4 separate regions of the Homo sapiens genome follow, and all the other regions are linked to region 1. Evidence: promoter capture Hi-C in 16 types of primary human blood cells and fetal thymus (Javierre and others, 2016). All regions are on one chromosome and are shown on one strand. Each heading gives the region's core, a stretch centred on a gene start or on the middle of the fragment in contact. The rest is flanking DNA. Distances are from core to core; before and after follow the strand shown. Region 1 holds the start of RPL22 (ribosomal protein L22). Region 2 overlaps LRRC47 (leucine rich repeat containing 47). Region 3 overlaps WRAP73 (WD repeat containing, antisense to TP73). Region 4 overlaps CEP104 (centrosomal protein 104).

Evidence for each region. The method cuts DNA at HindIII sites, captures the fragments that hold promoters and counts their contacts. A CHiCAGO score of 5 or more calls a contact.
Region 2: a contact is called between a fragment that was not itself captured here and the fragment with the promoter of RPL22 in region 1, in 2 of 17 cell types (naive CD4 T cells and naive CD8 T cells). The highest score is 6.9, in naive CD4 T cells.
Region 3: a fragment that was not itself captured here is called in contact with the fragment with the promoter of RPL22 in region 1 in 1 of 17 cell types (erythroblasts); the score reaches 6.5 in erythroblasts.
Region 4: a fragment that was not itself captured here is called in contact with the fragment with the promoter of RPL22 in region 1 in 3 of 17 cell types (total CD4 T cells, erythroblasts and M1 macrophages); the score reaches 6.6 in total CD4 T cells.

What each region holds. Positions count from the first base shown.
Region 1 is chr1:6,197,588-6,202,516 of GRCh38, reverse strand. RPL22 (ribosomal protein L22) reads left to right here and starts at 2,922. Exons shown (of 4, transcript NM_000983.4): 1 at 2,922-2,955; 2 at 4,761-4,865. The coding sequence starts at 2,944. RefSeq lists a silencer at 3,031-3,170. The HindIII fragment of the contact is 15,793 bases long and covers 1-4,042 here.
Region 2 is chr1:3,775,203-3,780,756 of GRCh38, reverse strand. LRRC47 (leucine rich repeat containing 47) reads left to right here. Exons shown (of 7, transcript NM_020710.3): 7 at 1-2,198. SMIM1 (small integral membrane protein 1 (Vel blood group)) reads right to left here. Exons shown (of 4, transcript NM_001288583.2): 3 at 5,274-5,458; 4 at 4,801-4,962. The coding sequence starts at 5,383. The coding sequence ends at 4,836. Among named protein-coding and RNA genes, the nearest start is that of SMIM1, 5.2 kb to the right of the region's middle. RefSeq lists enhancers at 5,106-5,165, 5,081-5,554. The HindIII fragment of the contact is 9,771 bases long and covers 1-5,554 here.
Region 3 is chr1:3,644,762-3,649,764 of GRCh38, reverse strand. WRAP73 (WD repeat containing, antisense to TP73) reads left to right here. Exons shown (of 12, transcript NM_017818.4): 2 at 2,205-2,357; 3 at 2,983-3,099. Among named protein-coding and RNA genes, the nearest start is that of WRAP73, 2.8 kb to the left of the region's middle. The HindIII fragment of the contact is 1,393 bases long and covers 554-1,946 here.
Region 4 is chr1:3,846,243-3,851,008 of GRCh38, reverse strand. CEP104 (centrosomal protein 104) reads left to right here. Exons shown (of 22, transcript NM_014704.4): 3 at 2,228-2,401; 4 at 3,396-3,534. It overlaps LOC124903829 (a long non-coding RNA gene), which reads left to right. Exons shown (of 2, transcript XR_007065439.1): 2 at 1-1,198. Among named protein-coding and RNA genes, the nearest start is that of CEP104, 8.6 kb to the left of the region's middle. RefSeq lists an enhancer at 1-411. The HindIII fragment of the contact is 1,227 bases long and covers 1,126-2,352 here.

The DNA.
Region 1 (4,929 bases), core at 1,673-4,172:
TGAGCTTGAGACCCCCAGAGGATAAGAAATTAAGAAAAGCCAGGAAGGCTGGGCGCAGTGGCCCACACCCGTAATCCCAGCACTTTGGGAGGCCAGCGTGGGTGAATCTCTTGAGCCCAGGAGTTCAAGACCAGCTTGGGCAACATAGCAAGACTCCCCCCTCTATAAAAAATACTAAAACTTAGCTGGGCATGGTGGCTCGTGCTTGTAGTCCCAGCTACTTGAGAGGCTGAGGTGGAAGGATTGCTTGAGCCAGGAGGTTGAGGCTGCAGTGAGCTGTGACTGCACCTCTGCAGTCCCACCTGGGTGATAGAGTAAGACCCTGTCTCGAAAGAAAAACAAAAATAGAAAAGCTGGGAAAAGTTCCAAGCAGAGGCAAGAGCAAGTGCAAAGCCCCAGAAATGGGAAGACATTTAGAGACTAGCAGATCAATGTGGCTGGAGATGAAGGAGCTCAGGGTGGGGAGTAGGGCTGAACATGGCATGGGAGTGAGGATGGAGGATGGGGGTGAGGCTGGAGAGGTGGGGGCGGGGCAGGGGGTGTGGGGTGAGGGATGAGGGTTTGAGTGTGGGGAGGTGGGGGTGAGGGTGAAGAGGTGAGAATGGGCTCATGAGGGTCAGGGTGATCTACGGGACACTAGTCTAGAGATGCCAAGGATGCCACTGGCTGTACCTGTGGGGAGTCCAGGGAGGGGTAGAGGCTGCACACATTGGCCTGGGGAGTCATATTTAAAGGGAAGAGCATGTGGGTCTTGTCTAAAGATCAAGTGTAGATAAGGACGGGAGGAGGCTGGGTGTGATGGCTCCCGCCTGTAATCCTAGCACTTTGGGAGGCTGAGGCAGGAAGATTGCTTTAGCCCAGGAGTTCTAGATCAGCCTGGGCAACATAGCCATAGTGAGACACCAACTCTCTACAACAGCAAAACAAAACAAAACAAAAAAACATGCAGCTGGGCATGGTGGTGCACACCTGTGGTCCTAGCTACTCAGGAGGCTGAGGTGGGAGGATTGCTGGAGCCTAGGATGTCAAGGCTTCAGTGAGCCGTATTCGCACCACTGCACTCCAGCCTGGGCAACAGAGCGAGAGCCTGTCTCAGAAAAAAAAAAAAAAAAAAGAAAGAAAAAGGAAAGAACAATAAAAGTCAACTGCTGAGAGGGAGGTTTAGGAAGAAGGGGCTGGCATTATGACTGAGGTGTGAAATAGTCTTTTGGGCCAGGTGCAGTGCCTTATGCCTGTAATCCCAGCAATTTGGGAGGCCAAGGTGGGAGGATCACTTGAGCCCAGGAGTTTGAGGCTGCAGTAAGCTATGATCACACCACTGCACTCCAGCCTTGGTGACAGAGCAAGACCCTGTCTCTATTAAAAACAACAAGAAAGGGAAATAGTCCCTTGGGGGAGAGATTTAGGATTGTCAGTAGCCCTGAGGGCTCGCTTAGGGTCCGTTATCAGCCAGGGTCCAGTCAAAAGACAACACATTATAGTTTTTAACTGAGAGAATTTAATATAAAGGATTGTTAACTAGGTATAAAGATGTGTTTAGGTAACTGTCGGGGTATAATACTAACAGTAGCAACTGCAGGAAGTAGCTACCACTGGTAGGTGGTATTATTAAAATGTAGATGCTTGAGGAGGGGCACAGGGAGGTGAAACTCAGACATCTGAGGAGAGGGTGCTGCTCTGCTAGGGCTGGTGTCTCTGAGGAGAAAACGAGGCTGGTTCTGCAAATGTTGGAATAAGTGCAGACTGGATTCCACTGCTGCTTCCAGAATGTTCCAACTGCCACCTCCAGGATAAAGAAGCAAGAGTGGATGACACCAGACAGGACAGGAGCAAGCAGGAAGCAAAGCCCCCTATTGATAGAGCCAAACCGGGATCAGCTGGAAAGCAGAAGTGTTTGCAGAGGCCCAGCCTGATCATTATAGAGCCAAGAACAGCAGCTGGCTTTGGAGCTTGGTCAACCGGCTTGAGGCCTGAGTTGAAAGCTAGACCCATCAGCACAGTCTCTTCTGGTGATTGGACTTTTGCTAGGTGAGTACACTGAAGCCAGGTAAAGGGAGTGGAGAGTGTGTGTGCCACTGAGTGATTTACAATTCAGGATCCTGGAATATAATTCCGTGAGGACGCAGCGGGTGACTGGGTGCAAAGTAGCCCAGTTCAAGGGACCTGTGGGCCTGGGGATGAGGACCTTTGCTTCTCCACATGCGGTCCATGGACTCGCAGCATCAGCATCGTCTGAGAGCTTGTGAGAAATGCAGAATTTCAGGCCACTGAGACCGCTGGAATTGGAATCTGCATTTTCCAGATCTCCTGGTGGTCCTCAACTACTTACTGGTTTGGGATGGGAAACTAGAAGGCTTGGGCTGGGAAACTAGGGAGTGGTGATCAGCGAGGGGGCGGCCTGGCTACAGCAAAAAGGACAGGCACTGGGAGACAGCCCCTGGGCATGAGCTTCCAAGCTGGGGCTTTTTGAGGAAGCCATAGTGGTCTGGCATTGGGACCTCTGAACGAAATTTCCCGGTGGCTACAAGGAATTTTCCCACTTCCCCAAATTAGTAGATTCGATTTCCATCCCACTAGCTGGTAATTTACAGTATAGTGAATTTCCTTATTTCTTTTTTCTTCCCAAGACTTTCAAAAAGTAAAGCCAACCCCTTTATTTATCTTTGGGCTCGTCCAGTCTGGCTTCCCCCCTCCGATCGTTCGCAGTGGGACAGCCCGCCGGGCCTCCTTCCTTCCCCAGAAACCCTCCAGGCCTGGGAGAGGACGCGTTTTGCATTCAGGAAAAACCAATCGCTCCCCTATCGTACATAACCAAGAGAAAAGGTGGCGGACGAGGGGCGTGGCAAAGTGATTAGTGCGGCCTGGACCCTGCGTGCCTTGCGCGCTGCGGGCTCTTTGCGTCTGCGTAGTTCGCTCACCTCCCTTTCTAACTCCGCTGCCGCCATGGCTCCTGTGGTTAGTATGGCTCCGCGTGAGGCCTCGGCTCCAGGGGAGGCACGTGGGCCTCGCCGAGCCCGGCATCTACCCAGGCTCGCTGGGGACGGCGCCCTGCAGCGTCCTGCTGGGGTGGGCTGGCAGGTCGGCCGGAGCGGGCCAGAGCCCCTGCCGATCCCAGCACGTTGTAGGCGGAGGAGGCCGCGGCCCGAGGCTCGTGAGGGAGATCCGGGAGGTCTCGGAGGCCCGGGGCCCCAGCTAGGGGCTAGCGGGGAGCTGGAGCCTGGAGACTGCGGTCTGGGCCGGCCACTGGTCCTCGGACCCCGGCCGGGGGCCTGATTACCTGGGTGGAGGGCGGGGAAGAAGAACGGGACCTGCTACCCTGGGGAGCCGCGCATTCGGAAGTCCACGGCCAAGACTCGGGGACGAATCCGCGGAAGGGCGGCTTGGTCGGCGTGCTTTCGGAGAGGAGGCCTGGGTTTGAGGAGCTTTTTAGCGTCCCCAGAGGAAATTAGTTTATCAGGGCGCACTGTACAGACCCAAACGGGTGTTGCAGTGGTGTAGGGAGAAGGCTCTCATTGCATTCTCCTTTAGCTATGCTGGGACTGGGCTGTGCGGCGCCCTCCTCCTAGGTTATTTGAGAAAGTTGTTTTTCCGTGTTCTTCGTCCCAAGATCCTACTTTTCCTCTTTTGTTGGGACTCCCTGGTTAACATTTCCGGTTCTTCTGCTCTTTCTGTCTGGTTGGGCTTTTGAATGCCTTTTGGTTTAAAACCTTGATGGAGAAGTATCAAGCCCGTTGTGGGTAGGTCTCTTGATTGATTGTGTGTGTTCGGAATAGATCTTAAAGTACCCCTCTTAGATTATTACTGCGAAGAGACGTTGTAAAAAATAAATCAGTGATTTTTGTAGTGGCCAAATGTTTGAAAAGTTGATCCAGTTAACACAAGTTTTAGATGAAGTTCTTTTAAACATGAAGGGAGGTAAGATGTGTTTTTGGAAAAGTCTATTTAGTTCTGCAGAGCTTTTAAACGTGAAAGTACAGGTTGGTACGATGCACAAGTGCATTAATGGTGTCAAGTTTGTAGAGAGATAAGATTAACACAAGCTTCTTCGTAAGAGTGAAGAAACTGGAACCTTGTAGGATGTGCTTTGCCGGGTGGTTTGGAAGTACTAATGCATAGATGAAGCGAATCAAAATGTCAGAAGTTCTTGACGGTAGTGTTGTAATAAGATTCTAGGTTTTAGCCTTAACCTTGTCCAAGCTGGAGTGGACAGGCACCTAGAATACTTTGCAACTCCCTTCATGAGAAGGTGGATGAGACAGGATTAAGGGAGATGAGCTAAGACGGATCAGGACCCTACTCTGAACATGTAGGACAAGGATTGATTTCATATGAAAATTGTGGGTATGCAAGGCATTTTGTATGCCTGCACTCTAATTTTGGAAAAATAGTATTTTTTTGAAATTGGGAATGTTAGGGCAAACAAAAGGAAGTGTTCATTTTATTGTGGTTCATAAACTAAGAGACCTTCATGCCTGTAGAGATTGGGGAGACTGGAAAGTTTGAGTGAGTCAAGAGTGCTAGAATGATTTCCCCATCAAAAGGGCATGACCCCAGGCCCCAAGCTTGTACAGCAGCATCTGCCCCATTATACCTCTGGCACTCAGGCAGTGATGCCTCTTGGCCCTCTGGCAAAGGGAGCACACTTCCGTTAGTTTTGTATTTGTATGGACTTTTATACCTATGACGTTTCTGGTTCTGTTAATCTTGTTTTTCCGACTGACTGAAACTTCATCTCTGTTATCATTTGTGTATTTTCTTAGAAAAAGCTTGTGGTGAAGGGGGGCAAAAAAAAGAAGCAAGTTCTGAAGTTCACTCTTGATTGCACCCACCCTGTAGAAGATGGAATCATGGATGCTGCCAATTTTGTAAGTTACATCCTTATTGCCACTCGGGTGGTCACGAACATTTTGAGATACTGTTGAGAAAACC
Region 2 (5,554 bases), core at 863-3,362, 2.4 Mb after region 1:
ATCTGTCCACCTCTGCCCCTCAAAGTGCTGGGATTACGTGATCCACCCGCCTCAGCCTCCCAAAGTGCTGGGATTACAGGCGTGAGCTGTGCCTGGCCCACCCCAGCATTTTTTAAGATGTATGTATTCGTTGTTCTGTTTTTCCAGATGATTCTGTCGTAAAGTGATGCTATGTTGTCGTTACAACATCAAAGTGATTTTACGGTTTTTGATGGGATTATTCAAGTGTCAGAATTAACTGTTCAAAATGTTCTGAATCATGTAGATACATGGCAGGTAACTGTTTATGGGAGAAAAGTACAGTGCTGTTACGTGGCACTGTACAGTCATGTGCCACGTAACAGCGTCTGGGTCAGTGACGGACACTTACCTGACAGCGGATCCACAATATTCTCGTGCAGTGTGTTTGGAATCCTGGTCTGGGCTCTCGTCGTTGGCCTTGTAGATCAAGTAGGGGAAGTGAGTGATGTTCAGTCATGCTGCTGGGACACTTGGTTTTCCAGATGAAAACACATAAATAAAACTACATGCACCATCGAGGCTTGTGTAAAGACTCTGTGATCACACAGCAGCGGCTAAGCACACGTTTCTCATGTGTCACTGAGCGACACGTGACTGTCACTGGTTCGGAGACCCGAAAACTTGGGAAGCCAACCGATGTGCGTTTCCTTGAACGGCACGGTCACTTTCTATGACGCAGCATCTTGTAAAACCATATCATGCCAGGATGCAGCTTGGCATGTGCAAGGGCGTTGGGTTCTCCAGCTGGCAGTGATCATAATCTTGGGGGGAAAAGTTTTAATGTGACCTTAGAATTGGCAGAATTGCGTCTCTTCATACTGCTGTTGGATTGCTTTGTGGGGGTGGAGATGTGGAGACCCCTTCAGGCAAGCAGCCTGTAGGCTGAAGGCAGTGGCAGCACCTCACCCTGGCTCAGCGGGGCCAAGCGGAGGAGAGCGGCATCGGTGGGGTTTCCATCGTGTGCACGCTGGTGCTGCAGTGACAGGCAGGTGGAGCCCCAGGAGTGGACCAGACGCCTCTGCTTGGGAAGCATCGGCAGTCCTCAGCCAGCCGAGGGACAGATGGTAGCAAAAGCTGGAGGATGCTTAGGTTTTTGAGCCAAAAATCTTCATTTATGCGCCAGAAAGGTGGGTCCTGGGCGCCTTCTGTTGTAGACGTTTCCGTTGTGAATGTCCAGGTCAGACCCCCACGTCCATGTGTCTTCGTGTATGTCCAGGCACCACATGTGCGTGCACACCACTCCCGGGAGTCAGTGTGCTTGGCTCATGAGGACACGGCCAGCCACCGCGATGATTTTACAGACCCCACTGCCTTACGATCTGGGTGCCATGTGAGAAGCAGACTCATCAGCTTTATCGAATGACACCATTTGTTCTCTGTTCAGTGTCTCGATTTCTGTGTCTGTAGAAATGACTGGTGATTTTGGGAAGCATCTGCAAGAGCCCCACAGCCCACACACCTTTAGTTGTCAACCTGAGAGGCCCGGGGCCCTGTGCAGTGGGCAGACTAACAGCTGGGTGGCTCTTCAGAGCCTTGCAGGACATGGGCCAGGCTGCCTTGAGACCTGGACCCACTTGTCTGGTCACCGCCAGGCCTTCCCGTCTCGCCCACTGTGGGAGGGAGGGGACTCCAGACAGGACGAGGCCCACACACTCAGTGCCAGCTGGACTGCCGTGGGTGTGTCAGATGACTGCCTTGCCTTGTGTCCTCCCAAAACCTGATTCCTGCTGCTCTGGGCAGTCAAGGCAGATGCCACAGTTGGCCAGGGGCCTGCCCTGCTGGAGGCTTGAGGCGGCACGGGGGCTTCCCCAGGCCAGGACTCTGCTGGAGTTCTGGGGCTGGGGACCCCAGACAGTTGCTCTGAGAGGTGATTTGGGGCTGCCATGGCAGAGGCTGCCCTTTCTCTGCATGGCCCGGCCCAGCCCGGGAAGGAGGAAGGGAGGAAGGGAGGGATGCTGGAGCTGCCATCTTGGCTCCCGGGGACTTGGTGTCCATGCTGTAACACATCTGTCACTGCGTGGGTGTGGATGAGGCTGCCACATGCTGTGCCCTTTCCTGATGCAGCTTGTGATGCGTGAGATGCTGGAAATGTATTTAACTCGCAGCACAGGTGTCTCTGATGTTTTCTTCACCCCACCCCACCCCCCGACTCACTAATAAAAACAGCTCCGCACCTGGCCCAGCAGATCCTTTCCCACCGGCACTGCCAGAGGTTGTTGCTCGAAGTGTCACAAAGCTCACTCTAGCCCAGTGGTGGCTTCTATGTGGGGAGGCTGAGGGCCTCCTGTCCCCACCCAGATCTTGCCAGCAGGGAGCAAGAGGCACCTGCCACTGTCATGGGGAAGCTGGTGCCCTTGACCAGGGGTCCTGGGAACTGGCCTCACCCTGCTGGGCCCCTGCCTGGAGCACAAGGTGGACCAGAGGTGTCGGGCTGCCTGGATACCCCAGGTGCACAGTCAGAGGAGCCCAGGCCCCAGACGCATCCACAGCAGATCCTCCTGTTCGTGAGTCTCTGGGAGGGTAGGCCAGGCGGCCACTCAGCAGGGTCCTGTCCCATCCTCTCCCCAACCCTCCCAGAGCTGTAAGGACACTGCTCAGCTCAGCCTAGGTCCATGACCCTGGGGGTACTGGGGCTGGAGCTGCTGTCTCCACCATGGTCACTTAGGGGACAAGTGGTGTGCCCGAGAGGCGGCTGTGGGTTACTTGAGTGCCTGGCCCAATGAGCACCCGTGGGTGTCTGCCTGTAGCCTCCCCTGCTGGGGCTGGCAGGGCTGCTGGTGGAGCCCCTGGCTGAAGATGCTGGGCCCCTGCCAGGGCGGACCCAGATGCAGCCAGACAGATCCAGGGCAGACCCGACATGCGCCTGTGCCATCTGATGCCAGCCCCTGACAGGTGGGAAGGAGCATTTGTGGGGGTGCGTGGGCATCACTGGCATGCGGGACCCGTGGCAGAAGCACCAGGGCCACTTCCCCTCTGACTGTAGAACTGGGACAGCTCCCATCCCCATCCTGTGCCCTCGCCTGTCTCCTGGGCCGCACCAGTTCTTGGGGAGGCCCAGCCCCAGGACCCCCAGGTCGGAGTGCTGCCTTCTGGGGCCCATGCAGCCAAACTGCTGGGCCCAGCGGCCTCTGCCACTTCCTTACAGCAGCCCCAAGGCAGTGCTGTCCTGTGAAGCTGGGCTTCAGGGAGGGTACCAGCTGGCTACTCCTTTCCCTCCTTGGGAGTGGCAGGTCAGAGGTAGGGATCTCTTTTTGAAGATCCAGGCTGTCATGGGGCTGGGGCAGGCAGCAGCCCACCCAACAACAGGCTCCCAGGAAAGCATCATTGCTTCAGACCGCAGCCCAGGACAGGCCCTTGGGCTCCCTCCTTGGGTTTGGAGCCAGGAGCCTTGGGGCAGTGTGCAATCAGCCATGCAGCTCCACCTGCCACCGGCTGGCCCAGGCAGATCTCAAGTGAGCCTGCTCGCCCCAAAGGCGGATGATGTGGAGTCTGCCTCCCTACCAAGACTGGCGCAGCCCCTCCTGTTTACCTGACTTGATGCTTTCGGCGGGACCTGGCCTGGGGCAGGCGCAGCCTCAGCCCTCCAATAACCTCATCTGGCCCTGTGGCCTCCCTTCTCTGTGCCCGTGAGGATAGTGGCTGCCCGTGTCTCCCACCCCCAGCCCTGGGGTGAGGACCCCTTCCCTAAGGGGATGTTTCTGGCAAGGCTTTTTGGGATCTTTTGTGGTAGGTGAGGGCCAAACACAAGACCCAGGAAAGCACCTACCAAGAGAATGGAGGTTGGGACCGGGGGCTGGGACTGGAGGCCAGGATCGGGGTGGGGGGAATGGGACCGAAGTCCCTGGGACACAGCTGAGGTCCAGCCACATCCGGGTCCCCAGGCCTGCCGGCTGTCCTCGCCAGAGGGCCCAATTGGTAGGGGTGCATTCCTAGAGCCACATGGGAGGGGGGCCTGCCCCGGGGAAACAAGCCCTTCCCACAGCCTTCCTGGATGTCACGCCTGGCCAGGTAACTATGGCAAGGGCTGTCATCCACCGTTCATTCAACAGACACTTAATGCCTCTGTACACAGGCTCTTGGCCCACAAGGAGTACTTGGAGGGACCAGGCCCATCCCTGGGGAGGGAGGGTAGACCCGGGTCCTCCCTGGCAGCCGCCGGCCCCAAGAGGGACACACCCAGCCTCTGCGCGTGGTGGGCTGCCTAGGAAGAACTGTGCCCACTTACTAAGGAAGATATGGTGCATCTGAGACAAGGGCGGGGGACACATAGCCACCCTTACAAAACCAGGAGTCAGAAAGGCCCAGAGAGGACAGGGGCCTGCCCAGGGCCACACAGCTCTGCACACTGCTCCCACGGAGGAAAGCAGCCGGGAGGATCCCACCCCGGGGGGCTGCCAGGGAGGTGGGCTCGGTTTGTCCGCTGAAGGAACCCCTCATCCTGGCCTTCACAAGGGAAGGGGCTGGGCCCTGGGAGAGAGGAGGCTGTAGCTGGGGGCTCCAGGCCGCAGGGCCCAGCCTGGGTGTGTCCTGCAGCTCCTGCTGAGGCTGGGCCCAGGCCTCCCAGCCACGTGTGCCCAGCTGTTTGTAGGTCCTTTGAAGGGCTGTGTGCCAGGTGTTTGTGCGCCCCCGTGTGGGGCCGATGACAGCTGTGCACCTGGTGTCTTCGTGTGCCTGGCTGCCAGCGCGTGTGCCCTGTGCGCTGTGTGTGCCGCAGGGTCCGTGTCTGTGGGGGGGTCCATGTGTACAAGGGGTGTGTCTCCAGGCCTGTGCTCTCACGTGTGCGGCCAGCCCCCCGCGTGCATGCGGGGCAGCATTTATTTGCACTTGTGCACATAGTAGCCTGTGAGGTAGCCCAGGATGAAGATGATCCAGAAGAGGGCCACGCCGCCCAGCACCTTCATGGCGATGCCCAGCTTGCCCGTGCACAGCCTCTGGGAGATCCTGGGGTGAGAACCAACTGGAGGTGAGCCCCAGGCCAGGGCCGCATGAGGGGCCCCCTAAGTGGACTGTGGCCGTTGGTCTGGGTCAGGGGGAGGGGCCTGGGCGCTCTGCTGGAGTCAAGAGGAAGCTCTCCCCGCCCACAGCCAACCAGAGGGAAGGCCAAAGGCTGCGGTTTGCTGAGCTGCTGGACCGTGGGCTCCCAGCCAGGATGGGGTGGAGGGTGATGGGGCCGGTAGCAGGGGTTAGGGCAGGCGTCTCTGGAGGGAGACACCAGCCTGCTATGGCTGGCAGGCTGCCCTCAGGCCCCTCACCTGCGGCAGCGTGAGGCCTCTTCTGTGCTGGACACAGCCCCTAGGCTGACTCCGTCCCTGCTGCCGTCCTCCCACCTACTATAGTGGACGTGGCTCTCCTGGGGCTGCATGCTGTGGGGCTGCAGCGGGAGGGGCGGGGCCTTCTCGGTGGGGAGATCAAGACAGGTGGCCAGGCTGTGGCTTCACTGTAAAACAAGCGGATGGAGGGCGGCAGTCAAGACCCCCTCTGAGGCTGCTGTTAGGAGAGGGGCACTAAGGGTCGGGGGCTGACTCCCTCACCG
Region 3 (5,003 bases), core at 1-2,500, 2.6 Mb after region 1:
TGAGCAAGTGCCCCAGACAGGTGCGGGACCCAGGAAGATACCCTAGACAGGTGGAGGGCCCGGGGAGGTGCCCCAAGCAGGTGCGGGGCCCAGGCAGGTACCCCAAGCAGGTGCGGGGCCCAGGCAGGTACCCCAAGCAGATATGGGGGCCGGACAGGTGCAGGACCCCGGCAGGTGCCCGGGCAGGTGCGGGACCCAGGAAGATACCGTAGACAGGTGGGGGGTCTGGGGAGGTGCCCTTGGAAAGGTGGGTATCGGCAGTGCCGACTGCACACAGGTGAGGGTATAGGAGATGTCGGCTCTTTGTTGTTACTTTGTCACAAAAGGCAAATTGATGATTCTGTTGCCTGTAAACTGGTAAGTGGTGTGGCTACTTTGTCATCTCTACTTCTCCTCTAATTCTCTTCTCCTCTACCACATGCCGAATAAATGATTTAAATACTAGTATTCTATCCCCAGGTAAGGAAGTAGTTGTCCTCATGGCTGGGATTTGAGGTCTTCGTTCCATGGGTGGCAGAAGGGTGCTTAAATCACAGAGCTATAACTTTAAGCTTCAAAACATATAGTGTATGTACCTGGATGCCTAGTAGTGTATATCCTCAGAAGAGAGGGATAACCCGGATGCCTAGTATGTATGTCCTCAGAAGAGGGGGACAATTGGCATTGGAAAGCCACTAAGAAGAAACATGCCTCGTAAAAAGTGGGCTTCGTTTTCCTTATCCACCACCTGTACTAACTGACTGATGTATCATGATGCTTTTTCAGGTTTTGCCACTCCTGACATTCCTGTGCTCTGTCTAGCTTTTGAGAGTTTAACTCTCAAATTACGTTTTTTACCTCTTCAGGGAGGTTTTATTCCAAATCACATAAAATAGCATCAGCTACAAAACAGAAAACCTCATTAGTTTAAATGGCATCTCAGCCTTGGTATATTTTCAATGTGCCCCCCTCCTCAATTAAATGAGAGGTTTGTTTTTTGTTTTTACCATTTATGAAAATTTCAGTGAATTATAAGGAGAAAGATTACATCTGCTTGCTTAACTTGGGTGTTTTTTTCCAGCTTGTACACTCTGGTCAAAATACCCTGAAACACTTGGTAATGATCTGTTACTGGAATCATCTTCTTGAAAGCCCTGAGGACTGGGGAGAGCAGGTCCATGTTTCTAGTTTTCATATCTTGCAGTAGAGTTTATGTGGTTCCTCAAGGTGTTGGTAAAAATATTCCATTTCATAAGGAATTCACTGTAACTGATCACAGTTTTCAAAGCTACAGTGTGAGAAAGTAAGTGCTGTGGTAGCTCCTTGTTCCAATCTGCCGTCACCCGCCTGTCTCTCTTTTCTCCCACGGAAAACTAACGTGGCTTTCTTTTTTGATATCGGTTCATAAAACACAAACTACTTTGACCTTGATAAGTAAAACTAACGAAGCAGTTAATATTTAAACATCAGTTCTTGATCTTGAAACTGTAGTAAAATATACATTCAGCAGGTGAGTACTCAGGCGTTATTTTTACTTGAAATTGTTTGCTTGGATAGGGACATAATGAACAAATATGGACAAGAAGAAACTATCTTTAAGAAAATAGTACTAACACTTAAACATTTCCCGTTTCGTGTTAGGAATAGGTTAATGGAGATAAATGAGCATTTGCGAAGCATCTTTATGTGTGCAGAAGTGAAAGCCTGTCTTTTGATCTTCTGTTGTTTTGGCTCTGAGTTCGGCACTGCATAAGAAGATTGATGCATTCCTTGCCATTTTCGTTGTCATCTGTGAAGCCTCAATTCTTACCCTTTATAAATTTGAGGAAATTGTCCAAAAGTGTTTATAAAACTAGCAGAGGATTTTGGTTATTAGTTCACAGAAGAGCTTTCTCCCAATGCTACTTCCCATTTAAGTTTAGTTTTTAACATACAGATAAGAAGGGACTTAAAAATGTCTTAAAGCTTTAAGTAGCGAGTTAAAACATACTTTTATACTTTACAATAGAGTATAGCAATATTAAAACCTGGCTTGTATATTTCAACATTACCCTTGTATGAACTGAACTGATCTTTAGGGGCTGGGGATGTCACTGGTGATCTAGACATGAAACCTCTGGCAGGAGAGAAGGCCACAGTCACTGAAGGCCAGGGCAGTAGCATTCCGAAGGCCCCCCTCTTTTGGAGTGGAGAATGTCAGGTGCTTGCTTTCTCATATTTTTTAGGCTTCCTGTGTCCAGTACCGGTTAGTGGTCCGGGATGTGAACACCCTTCAGATCCTTCAGCTGTACACGTGCCTAGACCAGATCCAGCACATCGAGTGGTCGGCAGACTCGCTCTTCATCCTGTGCGCCATGTACAAGCGAGGGCTGGTGCAGGTGTGTGCTGCCGTGTCGCTTAGAATCTGGACACCTTCTGAGGGCCCCTGGGAAGGAGGGGTTTTGTTCTGTGCCTTTCTAGTTTGAAAAAAAAGTCCGTGCAGCTCAAAGCCAGTTTTCTTTTGAAATTATAACGTTCTCTAAAGTTTAAGAACATTTAAACTAAGGAAACTCCAACGTAGTCTTAATTTCTAAGCAATATAGTTGAGAAACGGAGGTGTTGACAGCAATCTAGCCACGCGGATGTGGTGTGTTTCAGGAAGTCCTAAGAAGTCGTGTTTTCTTCTGTGTCCAAAGCTTAACTAAATGAGGTCTTAGGAATGACAATGTGAATAAACAGTTTTAAAACAACAACGAAATGAAATCACCAAGAAGCGTGGCTTACTTTTACACTGGAATCCAGCACCAGCCCTTCATCATGAAAGGTTCTAAAAGACACCCTGTGTGATCGGGTCTCTGCTGGTTTTAAGGGAGTTGTCTCTCGGCGAGGCCTCGCTATAGACTGCTGATGAGTTTGAAGACACCCTGTGCGGTCGGGTCTCCGCTGCGTTTAAGCGAGCTGTCCTCGCTGTCTCTCGGTGCTGATGAGTTTGCACTTGTGTGTTTCTTTCTTCTCTCAATCCAGGTCTGGTCTTTAGAGCAGCCCGAATGGCACTGCAAAATAGACGAGGGCTCAGCCGGGCTGGTGGCCTCGTGCTGGAGCCCGGACGGGCGCCACATTCTCAACACCACGGAATTCCATGTAAGTGTCAGCCCCAAGACACCTTACTGGCCATGTGATCCTGTCCTCTGCTCTCGAAACAGCTGGGGAGTGCGAGAGGGGGTGTGTTTGGAGTATGCTAGTCTCCCCTTATCCTCAGGGGATGCATTCTAAGACCACCAGGGGATTCAGATTGTACCAAACCCTGTATTTCCTGTGTTTTTTCCTATACAGCATACCTGTGATACATTTAATTTATAAATTAGATACAGTAAGAGATTAGCAACAATCATAGTATAGAACAAGGATAACAATATACTGTTTATAATTGCATGGATAGAAGATTTGGTCTTACTGAAGATCTGAGCAACAACCTCAGCATAGGATTTTTTCTTTCCTTGTTGCGTCAAGAACTTTCAGCTCGTCATTTAAAGGAAGCACTTTGTGGCTTCTCTTTGGCGTATCCAGATTGCGAGCCCCACCGCCCGTGCTTTGGGCTGCTACTGAGTCAGATAAGGGTGTCGTGAACACAGGCACTGTCTGCTGCCCTGGGTCTGATGACTGAGGTGGCTCCCGAGTGGCTGGTAGATTGGCGGGGTTGGAGGGAGCCGGGGAGCGTATATAGTGGTGTGTATATTTTAGGTCAGAGCATTATAAGCCACTAAGTATTATTGTCTGATCTTTTGTCCAGTTTTGAAGAAAAAACATTTTAAAAATCTTAATTTAGATTTTTTAGGATTTCGGCACTCCCTTTAATTCAACGATAGAAAATGCGCTGTGATATGAGCCGGCTCGCACCTTTCCTTCAGGAGCCTGGCCTGGGGGCGTGGCTCGGGGCGGTCGGCAGCCGCCCATTCACCTGCTGTAGGTACCGCACAACAGCCTCCGTGCTGAGCTCAGCGCGGAGGGGAATGTTGACATCCGAGAATAAATCAGAGGGATCTGGGATAGGAGACTGCATTTTAAGTTAAAATTAGGCATATGTCAAGTGTTTAGATACCAGGTCTTTGGTGTCCGCAGTGTCTTTTTAAGATACAGAAAAATGGACGAATTCCTTTAATAATGTGCTTTTCTGATGGAGTTGGATCCCAGTGTTTGGGCCCAAGTCCACTGAGTGCTCATAGCTGTCTGGGCTGCTGGCTGCACCTCGGTAACCCGCCCATCCCGCTGCGCCGCGCACACCACGGGGCAACCCGCCCATCCCGCTGCGCCGCGCACACCACGGGGCAACCCGCCCGTCCCGCTGCACGGCGCACACCACGGGGCAACCCGCCCGTCCCGCTGCGCCGCGCACACCACGGGGCAACCCGCCCGTCCCGCTGCGCCACGCACACCACGGGGCAACCCGCCCATCCCGCTGCGCCGCTCACACCACACTGCAGCCCTCCCGTCCCGCTGCGCCGCGCACACCACGTAGATGATGGCACCTGGGAGGATTTCTCCCAGCGTGTGGCTGCAGATGCTCTGTAGGGTTTCATTCGGCTTTTTTCAAGCTGGCATCGGCTGGGATAAAGTTTTATCCAGCCATGAGGGTTGCTGAATCAACTGCTTCAGATGGCTGGATGGCTTTACATATTTTTCAGTTTCGATTTTAAAAAATACTCCAAATCTAATGTCTGCTATTATGGGCTGTCAGAGAATAAGACAGGAAACAAAGGCCCACCAATGTCTCCGCACTATGTATTGACATTGGAAGGCACTTTCGGCCTGAGTGTTTCAGAGAGGATAATTTGAGCTTTTCACGCAGCCGTGTCTAACAGTCTTCAGGCCTGTAATGCTTTGGGCCCAAATCTGCCCTTGAGAAGGGCTCATGTCATGGGGTCAGCCTTGTTGTATTATCTTATTAAATGGCCCAGAAGGAAAACTACCATCTATAGAGTTTAGAAACCTTAAAAGATGGATAAAAGCCTGGTTTTGTTGAGCATCCCATGTCACACACACCAATA
Region 4 (4,766 bases), core at 490-2,989, 2.4 Mb after region 1:
ACCCTGCTCATGCCTCTCCCAGGCAGGAGCATCCCTCTGCAGAGGTCCTGTACGCTCACAGCACATGTTCCGTGTTATTTGGGGATTGAAGATTCTCAAGTATACACACAGCCACCCTTTTTGGTAGTAGTTATAAAAATCACACCAGTATGGTTCTCTTGTGCATTGACATGGTATTGCTTTAAAGGGCATAACCTACACTCACTTCAGTAACGTGCTTTCAGAGGATGTACCCAAGAAAAGGATCTGTGTGCCCTTGGTCACCACAGACTCCCACTGGGTTTGGCTCGGGGTCTCTTGACTTCCCTGAGGTCAGGCACATCGCAGAAAGACAAAGGAGGATACCCTGAAGCCGAGCCTCCCAATGACAGTACAAGGCACCCTGTTACCACAGGTCATAGAAAATGTGGGACCCTCTACGTCGGAGCTCAGGGCATAGATTGATGCACTTCCAGGAGAGACACTGACGGGGCGGTTAAAGAGATATAGGGAGACCCCCAGTGCCGTTCATGTGACCTCAGAATTCAGAGAGCCTGAAGCCTTCAGAGCAAGACGTTTTTCCAAGAAACCGTAAAGTTTGCACCAACCGTAGCCCCTGGGCATCCATTTTTTTGGTTGTCAAATTATTTTTAGTTTAAAAAATCTGTATCTGTCAATTTATCTTGAAGGGATAAATGCATACTAGCCTTTTTAGCTGTGTGGTTTCTTTTCATATGCAGCTTGAAAGGTATTTTTGATTCATCTATAAAGTGTTCATCAGCTACATTTGAGTAGCTAAATCATAGGCCCTTTTTGGAAGGATTTTTTAAAGTACAGTCCTACATCACTCAATCATGGGGACATTCTTTCTGAGAAATGCATCATCAGTCGATTTCATCGAACACCTAGAGTGCCCTCAAACCCAGATGGTACAGCCTACTGCTACACACCTAGGCTCTGTGGCATAGCCTATTGCTCCTGGGCTGCAAACCTGTACAGCACGTGACAGTGCTGAACACGGTAGCAAGTGTAACACAAGTAGGTATCTGTATATCTAAACATAGAAAAGCTAAGTCAAAATACAGTGTTGTCATCTTATGGGACCGCTGTCTCATGCAGTGCATGACTGTATACAACTTCAAAGCTTTGCCGGTTGTCTTGGTTTTCTTTAAACAGTTTTGGAGTTTTTTTTTTTTAATAAAGATTTTTAACTAATGGATTACTTATTGTCCTTATGTTCAGATAATCTCGCCATGAATGATAATATATGTGCCCTGTATTTAAAAGCAGTAACTATCTAAAGCAGCCCTTTACTGACATGAAAGACTAAAGAATTTCATTTCAAAAGTTGCTTGGTTTCCCAATTTGTGCCAGCTGCCCTCCTGCCCCAAATGTGCCTGTCTTGAACTTTTGCATTTTTGGAAGCAGTGTGGGGTCTTTGCTGACTGCTGTGATTCTCTACCCAACTCTTAGTTATTTAATACGTTGTGTTACTTTTGGGCTGGGCCCAGTGGCTCACACCTGTAATCACAGCCCTTTGGGAGGCCGAAGGGGGAGGATCCCCTGAGCCCAGGAGTTCAAGACCAGCCTGGGCAAAATTTTAGCCAGGCACAGTGGCACACACCTGTGGTCCCAACTCCTCAGGAGGCTGAGGTAGGAGGGTCACTTGAGCCCAGGAGATCAAAGATGCAGTGAGCCATAATCACACCGCTGCAGCCTGGGTGACAGAGCGAGACCTTTTCCCAAAAAAAAAAAAAAAAAAAGTTATGTCACTTTTGAGCAAAGAAGCTCCAGCATGGCCCATAGCATAGGCTTGTCTCCCTAGACCACTATGCGTGAAAGGCAGGCACTCCTTAAATATTGATACCTTGGGGCCCTTAAGCATTTGAGTTCCTGTGGAAAATCCTTTGGCTCCGTCCTGCCCACTAGTGCCGCCTCATAAGATTGATTTATCTTATGAAAAACTGCAGGTTTCACATCAGACCATTTACTAGCTGCCAAGAGTATGATTCCTATAGGGTTACAGGCAGATCAAGTCAAATTTCAATTCCCAGCTTCAGCTCCAACAAGAAAAGCTCGAGAGAACAGGAATCATGTCGCAGGCATCTTTGTACCATCAGTACCTACAGACTGTTCTGTTCAAAGTGGGTGTGTGGTTAATGCTTCTTACCTGCAAGAATGAGATGCTAGCATCTAGAAACCCTCTGCAGAAGTTGTTCAGAAAATATAAAAATGTGTTTGCTTTCAGATTTTGCCAGTTTCCACAAGAAATTGTCCTTCAAATGGTGGAGAGATGTCGAATAAGGAAACTGCAGTTACTTGCTCACCAGTATATGATTTCAAGTAAAATTGAGTTCTACATTAGTGAAAGCTTGCCTGAATATTTTGCACCCTATCAAGCAGAGCGGTTTCGAAGACTTGGGTAAGAATGAAATTTAAAATGTATCATGGCAGCTTTTAGGCTAATTCTACCTGAAAGCTCTTTTTTTTTTTTTTTTGAGATGGAGTCTCGCTGTGTCACCCAGGCTGGAGTGCAGTGGTGCAATCTCAGCTCACTGCAGCCTCTGCCTCCCGGGTTCACGCCATTCTCCTGCCTCAGCCTCCCGAGTAGCTGGGACTACAGGTGCCCGCCATCACGCCCGGCTAATTTTTTGTATTTTTAGTTGAGACAGGGTTTCACCATGTTAGCCAGGATGGTCTCGATCTCCTGACCTCGTGATCCGCCCGCCTCGACCTCCCAAAGTGCTGGGATTACAGGCGTGAGTCACCGCGCTCGGCCCTGAAAGCTCTTAAAAATGAATTGTCCCTTAACTTTTGGTCCTGTGTTATGTACTTCTATTTGGTTCAAGAGTACACAGTTTCTTAACACCTGCCTCTTATTGAATGTGCTTAAAAAGCAGCGCTATAATTTCTATGAATTCTGCTATTCAACTCTACTTTTCAGATGTGGAAATTTTCTTAAGAATGCTAATTAGATGACCAATCTGGCCAACATGGTGAAACCGTGTCTCTACTGAAAATACAAAAATTAGCCGGGCATGGTGGTGAGCGTCTATAATCCCAGCTACTTGGGAAGCTGAGGCAGAAGAATTGCTTGAACCCGGGAGGTGGAGGTTGGAATGAGCCAAGATCGCGCCACTGCACTCCAGCCTGGGTAGCAGAACAAGACTCCATCTCAACAACAACAACAACAACAAAAGAAGAATACTAATTAGAATTTGAGTTCTAGGGGTTTTTCCTAGGTTTTTCATTCTAGACTTAGCTTTTATTCAAACCTGTTGATCCTGCATAGGGGTAGTCTAGCTTTAAAAAATAAAACAATAAACATAAATGAGCCTATTGAGTTCAATCAGAGTAGGGAGCAGTTTTATTGAACAGCACATTTTCAAATTCTTCAGTTGTGTTTTGTTTTTCAGCTACGTGTCTCTCTGTGATAATGAAAAGACAGGTTGCAAAGCCCGGGAACTAAAATCAGTTTATGTGGATGCAGTAGGACAATTTCTTAAACTGATTTTTCACCAAAACCATGTCAACAAATACAACATATATAATCAGGTAAGATGCATGCAGCTTCGCCTTTGATTCTGCCCCTACCTTCTTTGTGGGATTATGTGGTCACGTATCTTTTCTTAGATGCATTTTCAAGGTGATCTTATAAGAGAGGATCTCTTCTGGGAGACTGCTGAGCTCTCTGAGCTGTGCTGTCTGATCCAGCAGCCTCTGGGCACACGTGGCCAGTGCCCACCACGAACTGGCCTAGTGCCCAGAGCTGCTGCCAGCATCACCAGACAGTGGGCTTCAGAGACTCAGTACAAAAGGAGAACGCGAAAGAGTTCATGAGAACTTTTATGTCAATTGTATGTGATGAAATGATAATATTTTGGATATGTTGTGTTAACCTATATTTTTAAAATTAATTGCATTTTTAAATTTTTTAATGTGCCTACTTAACCTTAATGACATATGTGGCTCACATCCTATTTGTGTAGGACAGCACAGTTGTAAATAAACCCTCCCAACGTGCACAAGGTAAATTCCCTGGTGGAAATTGTGGACACATGAATGTTGCATGTAATCCAGAATCTCTCCAGCTTCAGGCTGCTAATTCTTCATCTCTTCCTTCCTCCCTCCCTTTCTTTCCTTCTTTTTTTCTTTTTCTCACATGATTAGTGTAGTAGAAATCAATTGTGTCCAAAGCAATCTTGTTAATTAGCACAAGCATTTACAACTCTCCCTGCCCCCTCCAAGAGGAATGTGAGCACCCAGCAAATCAAATCTCTAGACCAAGCGGGTGAGCTGGACAAGAGCGCAAAGGTCCAATTAAGCTGCCTGGCCCCTTGCAGCATAACACGCCAGGAAGCCAGAAGAATGAGTCTTAACCCTGTTCCTTCCTCCACCCACCTGCATGTATTTACCAGCAATGACCTGGCTGTTGTCTTGGTTTTCTTTAAACAGTTTGGAGTTTTGTTTTTTTAATAAAGATTTTTAAATAATAGATTATTTATTGTCCTTATGTTCAGATAATCTCGTCATGAATGATAATATATGTGCCCTGCATTTAAAAGCAGTAACTATCTAAAGCAGCACTTCACTGACATGAAAGACTAAAAAATTTCATTTCAAAACTTGCTCGGTTTCCCAGTTTGTGCCAGCTGCCCTCCTGCCCCAAATGTGCCTGTCTTGAACCTTTGCATTTTTGGAAGCGGTGTGGGGTTAGTCTACAGTGGTTGGGGGTGCAGGATGGAAAAGTGACTCCCCACCTCAGGTGAGACTCACCAACTGGGAAC